Linked DNA regions of Homo sapiens: region 1 is linked to region 2. Evidence: promoter capture Hi-C in 16 types of primary human blood cells and fetal thymus (Javierre and others, 2016). All regions are on one chromosome and are shown on one strand. The core of a region is centred on a gene start or on the middle of the fragment in contact, and the rest is flanking DNA. Distances in the headings are between cores, read along the strand shown. Region 1 overlaps LINC01494 (long intergenic non-protein coding RNA 1494). Region 2 holds the start of ZNF142 (zinc finger protein 142).

The links. The method cuts DNA at HindIII sites, captures the fragments that hold promoters and counts their contacts. A CHiCAGO score of 5 or more calls a contact.
Region 1: a contact is called between a fragment that was not itself captured here and the fragment with the promoter of ZNF142 in region 2, in 6 of 17 cell types (naive CD4 T cells, M1 macrophages, activated CD4 T cells and 3 more). The highest score is 6.5, in naive CD4 T cells.

Annotation. Positions count from the first base shown.
Region 1 is chr2:218,902,590-218,908,891 of GRCh38, forward strand. LINC01494 (long intergenic non-protein coding RNA 1494) reads right to left here. Exons shown (of 5, transcript NR_110238.1): 4 at 4,250-4,457. Among named protein-coding and RNA genes, the nearest start is that of WNT10A, 25 kb to the left of the region's middle. RefSeq lists an enhancer at 6,266-6,302. The HindIII fragment of the contact is 1,258 bases long and covers 1,329-2,586 here.
Region 2 is chr2:218,654,059-218,660,872 of GRCh38, forward strand. ZNF142 (zinc finger protein 142) reads right to left here and starts at 5,565. Exons shown (of 11, transcript NM_001379659.1): 1 at 5,311-5,565; 2 at 4,922-5,072; 3 at 4,643-4,818; 4 at 2,092-2,405. The coding sequence starts at 2,371. It overlaps BCS1L (BCS1 ubiquinol-cytochrome c reductase complex chaperone), which reads left to right and starts at 5,625. Exons shown (of 8, transcript NM_001079866.2): 1 at 5,625-5,685. RefSeq lists enhancers at 4,689-4,808, 5,619-5,748. The HindIII fragment of the contact is 10,571 bases long and covers 4,674-6,814 here.

The DNA of each region.
Region 1 (6,302 bases), core at 708-3,207, 240 kb after region 2:
CCAAACACTGTCTTGCCTCAGGGCCTTTGCACCTCCTCCCTCTGCCTGAAATCGGTTTCCTCCAGATAACCGCATGAATGTTGTCTTCCTTCATTCAGGACCTCACTGAAATATCTCCTTATGAGAGGGGCCTTGTATGGTGCCTCATGCCTGGAATCCCAGTGCTTTGAAAGACTGAGGCGGGAGGATCACTTGATCCCAGGAGTTCAAGTCTACATTGAGCTATGATCAAGCCACTGTACTCCAGCCTGATTGACAGGGCAAGACCCTGTCTCAAAAAAGAAAAAAAAACCCACACAAAATAAACATAGAAAAGAGGAGCCTTGGCAGAACATCCTGTATAACATAGCAAACTTCCTCTTACCTTTACCTTGCTTTATTTTTCTTCATAGTATAGATCACATATTTGACCATATTTGTGTATTTCTTTATGCTCTGCTTCCACACTCTATAATGGAAACTCTACGAGAACTGAGACTCTGTTGTTTTTTGCTGTATTTCTAATGCCAAGAATGGTATTAAGTACATAGTAGGAACTCAATAAATATAAGTGAATGAATGAATAAATAAATAAATGTCTACAGAAATCACTACTAACTTCTGTCTTCAGGCCCAAACTTCCTTCCTATGATCTTTCTTTTTTTTTCTTTTGAGACAGAGTCTCGCTCTGTCACCCAAGCTGGAATGCAGTGGTGTGATTTCAGCTTACTGCAACCTCTGCCTCCTGGGTTCAAGCAATTCTCCTGCCTTAGCCTCCTGAGTAGCTGGTATTACAGGTGTGCACCACCATGCCGGGCTAATTTTTGTATTTTAGTAGAGACAGGGTTTCGCCATGTTGGCCAGGCAGGTCTTGAATTCCTGACCTCAGGTGATCCACCCATCTTGGCCTCCCAAAGTGCTGGGATTACAGGTGTGAGCCACCACACCTGGTCTCCTGTGATCTTTCTTGAAGTTCCAGCTGCCAGCTAGACATGTTTTAATGTATGCCTGTGATACCACCCACTCAAGCTTTATTTTATTTTATTTTATTTTTGAGACAGAGTCCTGCTCTGTCACCCAGGCTGGAGTGCAATGGCGCCATCTCAGCTCACAGCAACCTCTGACTCCTCTGCCTCCCAGGTTCAAGCAATTCTCCTGCATCAGCCTCCTGAGTGGCTGGGATTACAGGTGGCCTGCCACCACGCCCAGCTCATTTTTTGTATTTTTAGTAGAGATGGGGTTTCACTATGTTGGCCAGGCTGGTCTTGAACTTCTGACCCCAAGTGATCCACCTACCTCAGCCTCCCAAAGTGCTGGGATTACAGGCGTGAGCCACCATGCCCGGCTCAAGCTTTATTAATGCAGATTCATTATCTTATGTATGTATTTGCTAAGGGCTGAGACTTTGTTTTGTTTACTGTTCTTTTCTCAATGCCTAGCACAGTGCTTGGCATAGACCAGGCATTTAATATTTGTTGAATAAGTGAATGAATGACTTTCCCCTCCAAACCAGTTCTCCTTAACTTGCTTGTTTCTCTTTGTCACATCATCATTTTCTTAGTCACTGAACCTCAAAACTGGTGTAAACTTGGACTCTCACCTTCTCTTCTCCTTTCTATATTCAATCAGTGGCCAAGATCTGCTTATTCTTCCACTTCATTCACATGGTCAATATCCTAGTTCACCACACACCTCAAACATCACAACGACCTTCCAACTAGCCTCTGTCATTCCTCTTTCTTCCTCTTCAATCCATCCCTATCCTATTGTTCTGTTTTTCTCTCCCACGAAGTGCTCTGATCATGTCATTTCCTCTGACTAAAGCTCTCAATGGATCTTTGTACCAATTTGGGTTCTTAATTGCAAACAACAGAAACAGACTCTGGTTCACTTAGTAGAAGAGGAATTTACTGGGATGACATCAGGGAACTCAAAGAATTGACAGGAAGCCTCAAGAATCAGGCTCAGGAAGCAAGCAGGAGCCAAGAGAAGCTAGGCAGCTAGAACTTTAGCTAAATCCTGTCCCAAGTGCAGCCTGATTAAGGGGCTTGGGGGCTGCTTCCCACATGGCTACCACCACCCTGAGCACTTGCTGCTGCCACCTCTGGGATGAATTATAAACAGTCCTCTTCCTCCTTGGGTCACTTGTTGAAGATTTAGAGTCCTGACTGGGAGCATTGATTTGGCTGTGATCTTCCTGCTAGGGGCCAGGTGAGCAAGTATCTGACTTCTCACTAAGACTCACATTAGGGAGGCTCCACCAACATATGAAGGGGGCTCAGATGCTGGGCAGCTAAAGACTCCAGTGTGTATCCATATGCAGGTTCCTGAGCATTGAAGCCCTCCACCATATGCCACAAACGATCATCTCCAGTTTTTTCTCACTTCCACACCATGTTCCACTGAAGCATGACTGTGTGCAGTTCCCTGAGCAGTCCTTTCCTGCCTCAGCCCCTGTAATAGCTGGGCCCCAAAGGTGGTCCGCCTTGAATCATGCTTCACACCTGTGTATTGTCCCCTCCCCTTGAAAGGGCCAGTCCATGCTTCCTTTTCACTGAGTGTGCTGTGGAAGCGAAGCTGCATGACTGCTGAAGAGAGGGAATAGGAAGCTTTGCAGTTTTTGCCTCAGTCGCTCGGAATGTTCACTCTGGGGCAAGCCAATCACCGTGTATGAGGTCTGTCTACCCAGAGACTACCATGCTATGAGGAACCCGAAACAAGCCACATGGGAAGGCTGTATAGAGAGAGTAATGCCTGGGCAGGCCCCTTCAGTTCCAGCCAATTCAGATGAGGTGCCAGACATGTGACTTTAAAAAGTCATCTTGGGGCTGGGCTCAGTGGTTCACACCTGTAATCTCAGCACTTTGGGAGGCCGAGGCAGGCGGATAACTTGAGGCCAGGAGTTCAAGACCATCCTGGCCAACATGGCGAAACCCCATCTCTACTAAAAATACAAAAAATTAGCCAGACATAGTGGCACATGCCTGTAGTCCCAGCTTCTCGGGAGGCTGAGGCATGAGAATCACTTGAACCTGGGAGGTGGAGGTTGCAGTGAGTGAGATTGCGCCACTACAGTCCAGCCTGGGTGACGAAGTGAGGCTGTGTCTTCAAAAATAAATAAATAAATAAATAAATTTTTAAAAAGTCATCTTGGATATCCAGCCGAGTTGAGCCTTCAGATGACTCCAGCCTTAGCCACCATCTAACTGAACTGCTTGAGAGACCCCACGTGAGAACTGCCCAGCTGACTGTAGTCAACCCACAGGACTGTGGGATGTAAATGGTTATTTTTAAGCCACTGAATTTTGGAGCGGTTTGTTACTCAGTAATAGAAAATGGAAACAGCCCCTCTGTGGTCCATGTTTCCCTCTCTCTGGAATGTACCCCAACTGTCCTGCCTTAGCTCCATGTCCACTCATATCTGCTCTTGTCAAAATCCTTCCAGTGAGCATGGCACAGTGCAGAGGAAAGAGCCAGGCTTTGGGGTCAGCCTGTGCGGCGGGAGGGATTGAATCCTAGTTTAGTCTCTCACTATCCCTGTGACCTAAGGCAAAGTCATTAAGTTCTCTGGACCTCAGTTTCTGTATCTGCTATATTGAAATAAAAACACTCATCTGCTGAAGTTGTTTTGAGGACTAGATGTAATATATGTAAAGTACCTAGACGTCTCACCCATTTTAGTCTCACTGAATGGTGGCCTTTAGCAGACACTTAGCCTTCTAGCCTGGCATCAAATGGCACTTCTGAGGTCTAATTCTCATCACTTATAAATTATATGGTTTTGGAAAATTCCTTAAATTTCTCTGAGCCTTACTCTCCTCATATGTAACATACCTAGACCCTTAAGCCATGTCCCTTAACCGGCATGGCATCAGAAATCCTTGGAAGAGGAAGTAAACCATGGCCACAGTTGGGGTTCCCCAGTGTCTGGTGGGCTGGGGGTCTGTAGTGGATGGCAGACTGCAGGGGAGGAACAACAGAGGCCGGAGAGCTCATCACCCTGAGTGAGAAAAAGGTTTCACTGGACAGGGAAGGGGTCCGCCGAACAGGGCAGAGGGAGGAGTGCTATTTGGAATGTTGTGAGGCTGGGCATGACCACTGGGGCTTGGTGCACCTCTACCCTCACTCCCTCAGGCCTCAGGGCCTTCCTGGTGGAAAGGGAAACATTTGGGGTATAGGGCAAGAACGGGCTCGCTAGGGCACAGACATCTCTGCTGTGGGAACTCCTTATGAAAGAGCTGAGAATGAGAAACAGAACATGCTTCCCCACCTCAAGGAGAGAGAGATGTCAGAGAACCATGGACCAGGGGGCAGGCAGAGAGGCAGCAAGTGACGGTGAGATGAGTGGCATTGGCAGCAGCCCCGACCATGTGGGCAGCAACCCCACCCGGCTTCTTCTCAGACTCTCACTGAAGGTGAGGGCACGTGGAGATGTGGGAAGTTCCAGATGAGAGCACACTGTATGATCCCAGTGGCAGCTGCAAAAACAGGCAAAGTTAACTTATGCAGTTGGAAGGCAGGATAGTGGCCTGTAATCCCAACCCAGGAGGTCGAAGCTACAGTGAGCTATGATCATGCCACTGCACTTAAGCTTGGGTGACAAAGTGAGACCCCATCTCCAAAAAATAAAATAAATAAAATAAAATAAAATAAATAAAATGAAATAAAAAGGCATGATAGTGGTTATCCCTGTAGGAGATGCAGTGAATAGAGGGAAACAGGAGAAGGGTTTGGGGAGCTGGTAATGATTTGTTTCTTCCTCAGGGACCTGATTACACTACTTTGTTCATTGTGTTAAAAGTTAAGTGCACATAGGATTTGTGTATTTTTCTGTACGTTACTTCAATAACAAGTTAAGTCTGGGTGTGGTGGCTGTAATCCCAGCACTTTGGGAGGCCAAGGCGGGTGGATCACGAGGTCAGGAGATCGAGACCATCCTGGCTAACACGGTGCAACCCCATCTCTACTAAAAATACAAAAAATTAGCCGGGCGTGGTGGCGGGCGCCTGTAGTTCCAGCTACTCGGGAGGCTGAGACAGGAGAATGGTGTGAACCCGGAAGGCGGAGCTTGCAGTGAGCCGAGATTGTGCCACTGCACTCCAACCTGGGTGACAGAGCAAGACTCTGCCTAAAAAAAAAACCAAACAAACCCAAGTTAAAACACGTGCACATGCACACACACACAGCCGTTTTGGGAAGAAGAGAAACAGTCATTTCCCAGTTCAAGCCCTTTGAAGTGGCACCACATAGTGAAGTGGGTAAGAGATTAGGGGGCTGGCTAGGTGCGGTGGCTAATGCCTGTAATCCCAACACTTTTTGGGAGGCCGAGGTGGGCGGATCACCTGAGGTCAGGAGTTCGAGACCAGCCTGGCCAACATGGTGTAACCCCATTTCTAGTAAAAAAAATACAAAAAATGTAGCTGGGTATGGTGGTATGTGCCTGTAATCCCATCTACCCAGGAGGCTGGGGCAGGAGAATCGCCTGAACCCGACAGGCAGAGGTTGCAGTAAGCCGAGATCACGCCACTGCACTCCAGCCTGGGCAATAAGAGTGAAAACTTTGTCTCAAAAATAAATAAATAAGATTAGGGGGCTGGAGGCAAGGACCACATGGTGTCTGGCCAGACTTTACATTTCTTCCTCCATTCATTCACCATTCACTCTGGTTTATTAAGCACCTCCTGCACTTTGAACACTGTACAACACGTGAGAGGATAAAAGATTATTAACAGTAGCAGTTTCCATTTATTGAGAGCTTACTATGGAGTAGGCACTGAACACTCACGATAATTCTATGAAGTATTATTATTAACCCCATCTATCAGTTGAAGAAAAATGAGACCCAGAAAGGTTAAGCAAGTCATTTAAAGTCACAGAACAAACAAGGTTCCTGGATTTTCCTATGCACCTGTATCTGTGTGGACCCAAAGCCCCGGCACTTCACAATGAACTCCAGCGTCCTCTAGAAATCTAGGAACCGAAGGACTTCTTGACAAACTGCTCTACGACAGTAACGAGGCCTTAGAGCTGCAGCCAGACTGACTTCGAGTTTCGGCCGCATCCTTTTCTGTGACCCTCAGCAGGTTCCTTCACTCTTTTGAGCCTCAGTTTCCCCAATTGTATAACGAGGGTAAAAAACCACGCCTTTCTCTCAGGGTTATTGTGGGTATTCATTGAGAAGACGTGTGTGGAGCCCGGTGTCCGGCACCCAGTGAGAGCCTGGAACAATCATTAGGATGTCTGAGTCCTTATCACTCGTGCGCAGCACAACACGACCGTGGGCACAGGGTTGAAGGCGGTTCCCTACGCCTAGCCTCTCGATA
Region 2 (6,814 bases), core at 4,315-6,814:
TTCTAAAAATAATTTTAAAAAATAAATTGTGCCGTTACTGATGGACATTTGGGCTGTTTCCAACCATTACAAATAAAGCACCCCTATATATCCTCATCCTTGCTCTGGCCACTGTAATTCCGGTGTCTTTGTGCATTCCTACAGTGGAATTAGTGGTCAGAGTATGCAAATTGTAAAATTTGCTATGTAGCTAAATTGACCTTCAAAAGATTATACTAATTTGTATCTCCATAAGCTGTAACATAGTGTTTCCTATAGCCTCATCAACACTAGGTATTATTAAAAATGTTTAATTTATGCCAAAATGCATCTCCTTTTTTTTTTTTGAGACAGAATCTCGCTTTGTTGTCCAGGCTAGGGTTCAGTGGTGCGATCTTGGCTCACTGCAACCTCCGCCTCTCGGGTTCAAGCAATTCTCCTGCCTCAGCCTCCTGAGTAGCTGGGATTACAGGTGCCCACCACCATGCCAGCTGATTTTTTGTATCTTAGCAGAGGTGGGGTTTCACCATCTTGCCCAGGCTGGTCTCAAACTCCTGAGCTCAGGCAACTGCCTGTCTCGGCCTCCCAAAGTGCTAGGATTATAGGCATGAGCCACCATGCCCAGCCACATCTCTTATTTTTAACTGGAATTTATTTCTTTGCTAGTGAGATTAAGCATCCTTCCATATGGTTACTACTTTTATTTCTTCTTTAGAGCATTGCACATAGATTTCTTTTTCCCATTTAAAAAAAAAAAAAGGTTTCTGCTGGGTGCGATGGCTCATGTCTGTAATCCCAAAACTTTAGGAGGCCGAGGTGGGAAGATTGCTTGAGCCCAGGAGTTCAAGACTAGCCTGGGCAACAAGGTGAGACCTCGTTTCTACCAAAGAAAATTTAAAAACTAGCTGAGTGTGGGTGGTATACACCTGTGGCCCCAGCTACATGGGAAGCTGAGGCAAGAGGATTGCTTAAGCCCAGGAGGTCAAGGCTGCAGTGAGCCGTAACTGTGCCACTGCACTCTAGCCTGGGTGGCAGAGCAAGACCCTGTCTCAACAAAACCCCCAAAACCAAAAGAAAACAAAAAAAGCAAAGCAAACAACAAAAAAGATGGTTTCTTTTTCTTACTGTGGCTCTTTGAATTTTAAAGATATTAACTCTTTCTTACATATTGCGAATGTTTTTCCTAGGCTTTTTATTTTTTTAAATTTCTTTCACCATATGGAAGTTTGGAAATATTATATGGTCAAATTAGCTAATCTTTCCCAATATTCTTTGTCACTATACTACAGTGCCAACTGAAGTGGTGACAACTATGGCTGGAGGACGGTAATTAAAAAACAGGGAAGCTTCCTAAAAATAAGAGGTGAGGATAATGGGATGAATAAAGGGAGAATCTTTCATCTGAGATAAATACAAATGCTCAACTCCTACTTTTTTGTTTTGTTTTGTTTTTTTAAAGAGATGGGGGTCTCACTATATTGCCCAGGCTGGAGTGCAGTGGCTATTCACAGGTATGATCATAACATACGGCAGCCTCTAACTCCTGGGCTCAAGCAATCTTCCTGCCTCAGCCTCCCAAGTAGCTGAGACTACAGGTGCATGCCACTGTACCAGGCCTCAACTCTTATTCTTAACAACATGCCTCGGATGAGTAAAGTATGTTATACACAAAAAACTAGGGCAGGGAAATACCAGATCACTTCTGGAAAGCCCTGCCAAGCCCAGGGTGGTAGAGACAGGGTTTTTGCTTAATCCCTGGCTGCAGTTCCTGGGTAGGAGGGTCAATATGGAGGAAAGAATCTCCAAGGACTGTAAGAGTAGGGACAAGCCAGGATTGGGCGGAGGTGTCAGAAAGGTCTTACTTTCTGGATTACTGCCTAGCACACATGAAGCCCTTGCAGGACAGACTGCCAAAAGCTTGGTAGAAGGCTGTGCACCACTTCGCCAGCCTTCAATCAACATGCACCAACTGCAAACCAAATGACAACATCTCCAAGTATAAAAATAGGATGCTACCTTGTGTTCTCATCATATTTATACAGAATCAAAAATAACCCAGACAAAACCTCAGAGCTGCTTGTCCCACTGGCCTGCTTGCAACTGTGTTTGTACCTGGGGTCTCTCCAGGAGCACCTGGGGTCAGGGTTCCAGCTACTGTCTCCACAATGATCTCCATGTTCCCTGGTCCCTCTTCAGTTGCTGTGGCCTCTACCAGCAGGCAGCCTGGCTCAGTAGGTATAGGTGCAGGGTCCCGGGAAGGACAGGGGCTCTGGACAGGCCCCAGGATTCCACGGTTAGAGAGAGGCGGGGGGATCAGCAATAGCTCAGGGCACAGTCCATCCATCTCCCCGGTGCTACTGGCTGGCTGTGAGTCCAAAAGGGGGTCTGTCATCACCACCGACTTGTGTGTTTTGGCTTCTTAAATGCTGACAAGCCAACCAGAAGAAAAACAAAGTAAGGTTAGAGTTCTTACTTTCTTCCTGGCTGGCGTGGGTACACAGCCCAGTGCCCACCCACTTAGGCATTTTCTTGCATGGCAATATGCCATATATACCATATGAGACTAAATAGAGGCTTTCTTTTATGATAATGTTCAGAACAAAAAGTATAAAAATGATAACAGAATATTAGGAGACAGCCAACAAGTATTGGCCAATATATTAATGACTGCAGGTTGTCTTCTGCTAGCTAAGTGCCCTTAGCCAAGTCATTAAGCAATTTGGGTCTCAGATTTCTTATCTGCAACAAAATTAGGTGGGGCCCAAATATCTCAGAAGTCCTTTTTTTTTTTTTTTTTTGAGACAGAGTCTCGCTCTGTCACCCAGGCTGGAGTGCAGTGGCGTGATCTTGGCTCACTGCAACCTCCGCCTCCTGGGTTCAAGCAATTCTCCTGTCTCAGCCTCCCCAATAGCTGGACTACAGGCATGTGCCACACACGCCCAGGTAAATTTTGTATTTTTAACAGCGATGGAGTTTCACCATGTTGGCCAGGCTGGTCTCGAACTTCTGACCTTGGGTGATCTGCCCGTTTTGGCCTCCCAAAGTGCTGGGATTATAGGCGTGAGCCACCTTGCCTGGTCCCTTTCCCTCTTAACCTTTGATAATCTCACTATTCCTCAGCATGGATTATAAGGAAGGCCCTTCCTTCATCATCTGGCTCCTGCTGACCTCCCCTGACTCATCTCCCACTTCTCCCCTCAGCAGATCTCTGAACCAGATGATGTGCCATTCTCCAGACCCACCACATTCTCTTTTGCTTTCATACCCTCACAGCCTTTTGCGTCTCTTGGCTTGATATGCCTTTTCCCCTTCTCAATCTCTCTCTCTTATCTGGCTAACCAATTAACTATCCTTGAAGAAGCTGCACAAATGTCACTTCCACCATGAAGGCCTCCTGACATTCTTTTTTTTGAGACAGTCTTAGTCTGTCACCTAGGCTGGAGGGCAGTGGCACGATCTCAGCTCACTACAACCTCTGCCTCCTGGGTTCAAGCGATTCTCCTGCCTCAGCCTCCTGAGTAGCTGGGATTACAGGCATGTACCACCACGCCTGGCTACTATTTTGTATTTTTAGTAGAGATGGGGTTTCTCCATGTTGGTTGGGCTGGTCTTGAACTCCAGAACTCAGGTGATCCACCTGCCTCGGCCTCCCAAAGTGCTGGGATTACAGGCGTGAGGCACCGCGCCGGGCCTGGCTTCCCGAAACTCTTATCTTCTCTCTTCTGGCGTCCTAAGGGCACTCTGTACACAGCCCTATCAGAAACGAGGTCACACTGCACTGTTGTTTACCTGTCAGTCTCTCTCCCTAGATGTATAGCTTTTTTAGTAATTTGTTGACATTATCACTTCAATGATATTACTTTGTGATACTGACATTATCACTTCAACGAACACAAATCACCCACAATCGAAGATTCCAGTGAAGAACCACAGATATGGAGCTGCATTGGAGTAAAGCTAGGTATCTTGTACAAAACCAGTGGTTCCTCACCTATAACGTAACACATTTGGAGAAATTTCAAACTCATTAACTGACTATGGCCTCAAACTAAATATGGGAACATAACTGAGGAATGAATGACAATTGAATTGCATACCCTGTTATACATGGCTAAAATGAGTTTAAGCTGAATAATTAGTAATTAATAAGAATGATGGGAATCACTTCATGAAATTGAGTCACAGACAAGATGCAAAAAGAAAAAAAGAAGAAGAAACCAGGCCGGGCGCGGTGGCTCAGGCCTGTAATCCCAGCACTTTGGGAGGCCAAGGCGGGCCGATCACCTGAGGTCAGAAGTTCGAGACCAGCCTGGCGAACATTGTGAAACCCTGTTTCTACTAAAAATACAAAAAATCAGCAGGGTGTGGTGGCACACGCCTGTAATCCCAGCTACTCGGGAGGCTGAGGCAGGAGAATCGCTGGAACCCGGGAGGCGGAGGTTGCAGTGAGCCGAGATCGCACCATTGCACCCCAGCTTGGGCAACAAGAGCGAAACTCCGTCTCAAAAAAAAAACAAACAAAAACCAAGATCCTGCAATCTGATAGTCCCTATTTCCAGAATCCCATGGACTCAAAACAACAGATCACAGGGATTCACAAGGTGGCTGGAAAGTGCACTCCCGTGGTCAGAGGGATTCTCTGGAAACTGCAGCCTCCACTTACTGAATATTATCGCTGTTCTGGGGAATCTTCAAGCTTGACCATACATGGCCTCCGGGGGGAGCCAAGGAGGACGCTGAGCCGTCAAGATTAAGAACCTTCACCTGCGGGAGGGCAGGGTGAGGTAGGAGACAGGTGGGCACCAGAGAAGAAATACGCTTATCTTCCGGGCAGGAGGGCTGAGGAAGAGAAAGGACAGACTAAGGCAGAGAGAAGGCCTGGAGAAACAACGGGCCCCGGCCTAGCGACCCAGGTTCCCACCTGCCTCTGGCTCTGACTCACCGCGTGGTCTTGGACAGACACAGTCGCTTCGCTTCTCTGGGCCTCAGCTTTCCTATCTGTAAAATGGAGGTGATGACAGTGTCCACATCGTCGGGCAGGAGCTGGATCATAAGAGCCAGCGAACTGGAAAGGCGGTTTGTAACCTGGAAGGCTTGGGATGGAGCATCGTCATGATTTTGTCCTGAGAGCAGCAGGTACCCGGGCGGGGTCCAGAACCGTGACGCGACTGCAGCGCCGGGGCCCAGCTCGTCTGGGTGCTCCCTTCAGTACCTCCTTCCGAGAGTTCCCAGCGCCCAGGCCCACCCTGATCCCGGGGCTCGAAAAACTTTGCCTCCAGCTCGCTCCACCCGCATTCCCTTCCCAGTTCCGCCCCGCAGCCGCTCACTCACCTCCAGACCCAGAGCCGGCGGGAGCCGCATCTCTATGGTCGGCCGCGGCTGGAACGGCCCCCGGGGCCCGCTTTGTGCGACCGCCTCCGGCTCAGCCGCCTCTAGGATATTGGGGATGTGGAAGCCACTCTCTCTTCCTCTTGCCGGCTGCCGGGGTACTCTATGTTTTGTCTCTGTGGTTTTTCCCGCCCTCCACCCCCACTCCAGCCCTGAAGCCGGAGAAGCACCATCGAGAGCTCTGGGGTAGAGTGGCGTGGGCTTCTCTGTGGGTGTGGCGGGAAGTAGATGAAAGGACCCGGGGCGGGGCCGAACGCAGCTTCCCCAAGGTGCAGGCGCGGTGAAACCATCGAGACGGAGGGCCAGAGAGTCACGGCGGTGAGAGGGCTGAGTGACGGGTTACCCCAAACCATGTGGCTGGAGGCGCGAGCTGGGGTGTGGGCGAGGTTCAGGAGGGGGTTCCTGGGTGTCGCGGAGGGGCCGGGGACGGGAGAGCTTTGTCTGTGGCCTTCCATGCATAGGTGTTTTGGAATTCTGGATCCCAGTTCTGAGGCTCAGCCGAGGTCACTGCTGTCAGCTCACCTCCCTGCATGCCAGGCGCAGGGCAAAGTGGCCGGGGTTCGGGGTTGGAGGAGAGGTGTACTAGAAACAACTTTGCTCTTGTCCCTCAGGATCTTATTGTCTACGATGTGACGATCCGTGGAGAAAGTAGCAGATGGGCAGATTTTCATTTGGGGAGAATGAGGGAGAAAAGAACGGGCATTCCGAGCCAAGAGCACTGCATGAGCAAGGAGTTGGGAGGTTGCTTACTTGTTGAACATATTTGTTGCGTATTTGCATATTTGCTAAACAGGTAGTGTTAGGAGCTAATCCATGAAAGGTAGGTGGGCGCCGTATTGTAGAGAGCCTTGAGTACCAGGCTGAGTTTATACCCAATTCAGGGGTCTGCTGGGAGCCAGCCATTGAAGGTGCTGGAGCAGAGAGAGATATGGTATTGGAGCTGATCCCTATGATGAAAGATCTGGACCCTTGTGTAGATGTTCCGTGAAGCAGGAGGTGAAGACCTATTAAAATGCCATTTCAAGAACTACGATTTTAAAGACAGTTTAGGTGGGAGGTAATAAAGGTCTAAACAAGACGTTAAATATTGGGGACGTAAGGGGGAGGATATTTGAAGGACATTACTCATAACAAGACATAGGGTTACTGACAAGTCAACGGACGCTTCTCCCTTGCTGACTGCAGCCAATGGACCCCTTTTTATCATAGCTGGTCCCAGGGACCACAAAAATCCTGTCCATCCATTACCCTGATGTGAAGCCTGTTTATATAGCTCTTTTTGGTTTAAGGCATCTCCAGACATGGTCCTCTGGTAGGAAACAGGTATGAGTAGACTAATGAAGGACAAAATGGGATGAGGGACCTGGAGCCTCCACCCTTGCATTCCAATACCACCCTTACCCCACAAAAGGAGGGTATTGACCCACACAGTAATGCTGACCTGTGG